Regions from separate parts of the Homo sapiens genome. Here region 2 is linked to region 1. The links are contacts of gene promoters, found by promoter capture Hi-C in blood cells and fetal thymus (Javierre and others, 2016). All regions are on one chromosome and are shown on one strand. The core of a region is centred on a gene start or on the middle of the fragment in contact, and the rest is flanking DNA. Distances in the headings are between cores, read along the strand shown.

Region 1 (3,024 bases), core at 423-2,922:
GGTACACAGCCTGCCCCGGGTCGCCCTCCCGGCGCAGTCTGGCCCGGAGAGCCCCTTATATCAAAGCTGCCGCAAGGACCCAGATCTGGCTGAAAAGGGGCAAAGTCAAGGCCACCGGTAACACATCCCAACGCGCCCAGAACTCCCCCACCCCGCCCACAGGGTCCTCCCCTTATCCCCTCCTCCCCTCTTCCCTCCCTCACACATCCTTCCTCCAAATCTGCAAAAAGGGAAAAATAATAATAATCACAATAAAACCAGTTCTCACCAACGGGGGAGAGGAGGAGGGGGAGGAAGGGAGGAGGCTGAGCCGACAGAACAGATCCGCCCCCGCTGCCTGCACCAGACCCTCGGAGAGCCGGAGCGCGCGACAGGCGGCGGGAGGACACTCGCTTCCAAAAAAATAAACCTACAATGTAAAAATAACGCCGGGCGCCCCACGCTAATTGGGCCCGGGCGACAGCAGCTCCCAGGTACAGCCTGTCTCTCCCTCCCGCCCGCCGTGCCCTCCCGCCCTCGGCTTGCTCCTCCTGCAAGTGTCTGGGGCGGGGAGGGCGTACCCCACGGGTGCCCTCACTCCCCGCAGGCCTCTGAGGAAGCTGCCCTCTAGACAAGGGTCTGGGTCTTCCCAGTCGTGCCCAAGTGGGATCAGCTCTGAATTCCAACTTCGCAAAGTAGTGGCATCCCAAGTATCCGCACAGCCCGGGGGAGGGACTAGGAGGCGGCCCAATGAGGCGTCACCAGCCACGGGAGGCAGGCCCAGACACCAGGAACACCGGCCCGCGGGGGAGGGGGACCAGGGGCGACTCTCCCGAGGGACCCCGCCCAGCGCCCCGTGGCCCCACGCCTAGGAGGGACAAGGCTGGCTCTCCCCCTCGGCTGGTGAGAGACCCTCATGCGCCCCTCCACAACAGCCAGGCCAGGGAGCTAGGGGTACCATCTCCAAGGGCTTTCAAACCCGCGCTGCCCGATGGAAAATAAGGCGCAGTGTCGCCCCGCCAGGTCCGGGGCTACACCGGGTACAAGGGACGCCTGGCGGCCAAGTCCCCAGAGCCGGCGCACACTGTGGGGGGCCGCTCTGTGCATTTCCAGCGCGCCCCCCGCCCACCCCAACGCCACTTCCCTCCTTCCCGCCCCCTCGCTAGGGAGCTGGAGTTCCCCTAAGTTCCCCGGCGCCCCCGAGCACGCGGGCCGCAGTGTCGGCGGGGCGCCTTGCTCCCCAGCAGGCCACCCCCCGAGAGCGCCAACTCGGGAGTGCAGGGGCCCCGCCAACTCCGCCGCGTGCGCCGCCCGATCCTCCCCGGATCCCCCGGAAGCGCGCTCCGCGCCTCCCCCCGCCCTTCGCGGGGACCCTCGGCCCCAACTCACCTCGCGGAGGTGGCAGCGGTGGCGCCCGGGCTTGGGGCGCGCTCGGGCCGCCGGGGCGCTCAGGCAAGTGGCGGTGCCGATCGGGCTGGGGGCGCGCAGCAGGCCCGGCCTCGGGTCGGGACGCGATCCTCCCGCCGCCGCCTCCTAGGGCGCCGGCCCTGGGTCCCCGGCCCGCAAGTTGGCGCGCATCGCGGAGCGCAGGGCGCGGGCGCAGGGCTCGGGCGGGGCGCCGGCGGACGCGGGGCTCCGGTGCGGCCCGGCCTGCCCGCGGCTCCGCGCTCCCCGGCGGCCGCGGCGGCGGTGGCGGCGGCGGCGGCGGCGGCGGCGGCGGGAGGGGGAGGAGGGGGCGGGGCGCGAGCCCGGGAGGCGGTGGCTCGGCCTCCCTGCTCCCGGCTCCCCGCCCGCAGCGACGCGCCCCGGCCCGGCCCCCTCTGGCTCCTTAAAGGGCCCGCGCCTTCTCTCCAGGCCCTGCGCGTCCCCACTCGCGCGCGCACGCCGCCACACACACAGACACGCACGCACACACTTGGGCGCGACGCCGAGTTTCTTTTTGGCAGCTCCCCGAGGAGGAAGGAGGGGGGAAGCGCCTCCCAGCCTTCCCCTCCCTCTTCTCCTGCGGGCCCGGGGGCCCTCCTCCTCCTCTCCAGCCCCAGTACCTCACTGGAATCGCGTTTCAGCTATTAAATTATAACTCTGGAGTGGCCGCTGGATGGGGAGGGGGCGCGCAGGGAGGGCCCTACACAGGGCCTTTTAGGAGCACGCCCAGTGGGGCACTTGGGGACGGGAGCAGACAGTAGCGCAGAGCCCTCTCCAGGCAGGAACACGCTGGGCCTCCCCAGACCCGAGACCCAGCCCGGGCGAACACACTGCAGACTCACCACCCACCACGGACCGGAGATGTCAGATCTCACACAGACAAATACTGGGACACCCACGCGAGTTCACAGCACCCCGGAGGACACAGACGCTAGAATGCCAGTTTCCTGAGGGCAGAGATTTCTATTTTGTTCACTGCCCTATCGCAGTAGGGACTCACGAATGTGTTGAGTGAAGTCCCACTTGGGGACATTCAGGGACACAAATGCGGAGACAATGCAACGAGCCTGTGTCCCCCCCGCCCCCCCCACACACACACACAGACACACACATCCCAAAGCGTGACCCTGGGAGCCACACACGCCCGGCCTGCACAAGCACGCAGTCACAGACGGCACACATGTGCTCGCTCCCCCACGCACAGGCAGACACTCTCCGCTCCAGCAGGAACCTGGCCCCCCTGGCCGCCCTGACAACCCAGTGTCCTCATTTACCCCCTCCTCCCACCCCCTCCAGGTTTGCCCTCTCCAACCAGGGCAGATCTCTTTGAACAGCAGAGGGCACTGGGAGCCCTGGGCCTGGAGCCTCCCTCCCTCCCTCCTCTTCTGCTTTCTCCTAAGATGTTGGAGAGTTTGAATTTTTTTTTTTTTTTTCAGTTCAACTTTCCTTTTTTGGAGTGACGTCTCAGCAGATTCAGTTCTGCCATCTGGCAACATCTGAGAACCCCCAGGGAGAGCGGGGAATGGCTGCGGTGGGGAGGCAGCCGCGTGGTTTCCAGAGGCCGGCGGGCCTCCCGCCTCCGCCAGGATGCTGGGTTTGCCGGGCTCCCCTGCAGCCAGG
Region 2 (2,945 bases), core at 392-2,891, 34 kb after region 1:
GGGGACCAGCCCTAGGATGGAGTACCCACTGCCATTCCCAAGCATGGGACTTTGGGCAAAGAACTTTCTCTCTGACCTCAGTTTCCTCATCTGTAGACTAGGGATAATAATAGAACCCATCTCACTGGGACGTGGTGCAAAGCATCTACCCTGCTGTGTGGTGCTGAGAGAGTGCTCAAGACATGGAAGCCACATGAATTCCACTCCCTCAACAGATAGCAGCATACCTCTCTGAATATACGGTGAGCTCTCTGAACCCCTGAAAGTTTCCCTCAGAAAAACAGGAGTAACCTGATATTTCAGTCCTTACGAAGCTTCTTTTCTCTTGATTCTTTCTCATTAACTTATTTATTATTATTATTATTATTATTTTGGGGGTTGGGGGACAGGGTCTCACTTTTTTGCCCAGGCTGGAGTGCAGTGGCACGAGCCTGGCTAAGTGCAGCCTTATCCACCTGGGCTCAAGCAGTCCTCTCCCTCAGCCTCCTGAGTGGTTGGGACTCCAAGTGCATGCCACAACCCCTGGCTAATTTTTGTATTTTTTGTAGAGACAGGGTTTCACCATGTTGTCCAGGCTGGTCTCAAACACCTGACCTCAAGACATCCGCCCACCTCAGCCTCCCAAAGTGCTGGGATTACAGGTGTGAGCCACCACACCTGGGCCCTATTTTTATTTAAAAAAAACATCAAAGCCTGGTTTAGAACAACTTAAACAAGCATCGAATCCCTTGGAGGGCTTATGAAAAGGGACACTGCTGGGCCCCTCTCCCGAGTGTCCGATTCAGCAGGTTTGGGGTGGGGCTGAAAATCTCATTTCTAGCAAGTTCCCAGGCACGGTTGATGTTGCTAACTCAGGGACCACACTTTGGGAACAACTGGTTTGTCATATCAAAATTAAGCCTCATGGGTCTCAGCCTGCCTAGATGATTTTTAGAAATACAGATGTCCCCCTCTAAGATTTTTGAGTCTGCTGATTTAGGGGTGAAACCTAGAACCATCTATGTATGTTAAAATCTCCCCCAGGTGATTCTAAATACGCTCAGGTGAGAATGCCAGCCTTATCCCGAAACAATCTCAAACTACGCGGCCTAAGATTCCTATAAGTCTCATCTCGGAATCTTTTTTTTTTTTCTTTTTTTTTTTGAGACAGAGTTTCGCTCTGTTGCCAGGCTGGAGTGCAGTGGTGTGATCTCGGCTCACTGCAACCTCCACCTCCCGGGTTCAAGCGATTCTCCTGCCTCAGCCTCCTAAGTAGCTGGGATTACAGGCATGTGCCACCACACCTGGCTAATTTTTGTATTTTTAGTAGAGACGGGGTTTCACCATGTTTGCCAGGACGGTCTCAATCTCCTGACCTCATGATCTGCCCGCCTTGGCCTCCCAAAGTGTTAGGATTACAGGCGTGAGCCACCGCGCCCGGCCTCGGAATCATTTATACAGAGACAGTCAAGAAATGTCATCAGATTTAGCCATTATTCCAGGGGTATGAAGTATTGGATATCACTCTAAACAACCCTTTTAAAGATCGCTTTAAAAAGTAACACAGTACGTGGTTACTTGCTGGAACTCATCAATAATATACACCCACAAAACAAATGAAACAACCAATGTCCTAATTTATGCAAAAGGATATTTGCGGCCTGGGATAAAATTTCCAGTAGCTGCGTCATAGGCAGATTCAAAAAATGTCATGTCTCCAAAGTTCTAGACATGAGGGGAACAGATGGGGCCCACCAAATGCTGTTTGATGACTCAAAGACACCGTGTCAAAGACACAGGCGGCGAGTTGGGAGAACATGATTTTATGAATGTAAGAATGGAACACAAAGAAATGTATCTTAATGTGCTGTGTTACTTATGTCATATGTGACTTTCTTTTTTTTTTTCTTTTTTTGAGACGGAGTCTTGCTCTGTTGCCCAGGCTGGAGTGCAGTGGCATGATCTCAATCTTGGTTCACTGCAACCTCTCCCTCCCGGGTTCAAGTGATCCTCGTGCCTCAGCCTCCCGAGTAGCTGGGATGACAGGCACGCACCACCACGCCCAGCTAATTTTTGTATTTTCAGTAGACATGGGGTTTCGCCATGTTGGCCAGGCTGGTCTCAAACACCTGACCTCAAGCAATCTGCCAGCCTCAGCCTCCGAAAGTGCTGGGATTACAGGCATGAGCCACTGCGCCCAGCTACATGTGACTTTTTAATTCATTGTTTTTTACAGACAGGGTCTGGCTCTGTTGCCCAAGCTGGAGTGCAGTGAAGATCTTAGCTCTGTGAAACCTCAACCTCCTGTGCTCAGGCAACCTTCCCACCTTAGCCTCTCTGGTATCTGAAACCACAGGTGCACACTGTCACTACGCCTGCTTTTTTTTTTTTTTTTTTTTGGTAGAGATAGGAGGCTCCCTATGTTGCCCAATTTTGTACTCCTGGCCTCAAGCGATCCTCCCACCTCAGCCTCCCAAAGTGCTGGGACTACCTGCATGAACCACTGCGCCCAGCCAACATATGACTTTAAATAGGCATAAACAGGCATGTGTAACTCTACCACTAATATAAATGTGCAAGTGAACTTTGGACTATGCATACGCCCCCACCCAAAGTTTATATGTAAGTTTACCAAAAACATTGAGGGAGGTCCCTTCCCATTGGTGAAATGAGGGAGCTGACTAACATTTGGGGATACCTCACAGTTTTGGCAGCACAAAGATAAGCAAGACAGAAGAGGTCTCTGCCTCCAGGAAGCTGACGTTAGAGGGAGAGAGACAGTGAATACAAAATATGATGCTGAGGGCCACAAGGAAAGATGGAGCCGAAGGAAGAGGATGAAGGAGCACCAGGGAGGGGCTGCAACATGGGGACATTTGCAATATTCGGACAGAGACCAGAATAAGGAGAGGAGCTGAGCCTGTGAGTGTCTTGGGGGAGAGAAGACTTGGTAGCAGGAACTGCAC

What was found. The method cuts DNA at HindIII sites, captures the fragments that hold promoters and counts their contacts. A CHiCAGO score of 5 or more calls a contact.
Region 2: a fragment that was not itself captured here is called in contact with the fragment with the promoter of NCOR2 in region 1 in 4 of 17 cell types (monocytes, M1 macrophages, M2 macrophages and 1 more); the score reaches 11.8 in monocytes.

What each region holds. Positions count from the first base shown.
Region 1 is chr12:124,565,940-124,568,963 of GRCh38, forward strand. It overlaps NCOR2 (nuclear receptor corepressor 2), which reads right to left and starts at 1,673. Exons shown (of 49, transcript NM_006312.6): 1 at 1,369-1,673. RefSeq lists silencers at 419-518, 719-938, 1,079-1,188, 1,209-1,568, 1,679-1,928 and enhancers at 2,049-2,098, 2,265-3,024. The HindIII fragment of the contact is 7,570 bases long and covers 1-3,024 here.
Region 2 is chr12:124,600,183-124,603,127 of GRCh38, forward strand. No RefSeq gene overlaps it. Among named protein-coding and RNA genes, the nearest start is that of NCOR2, 34 kb to the left of the region's middle. The HindIII fragment of the contact is 2,658 bases long and covers 313-2,945 here.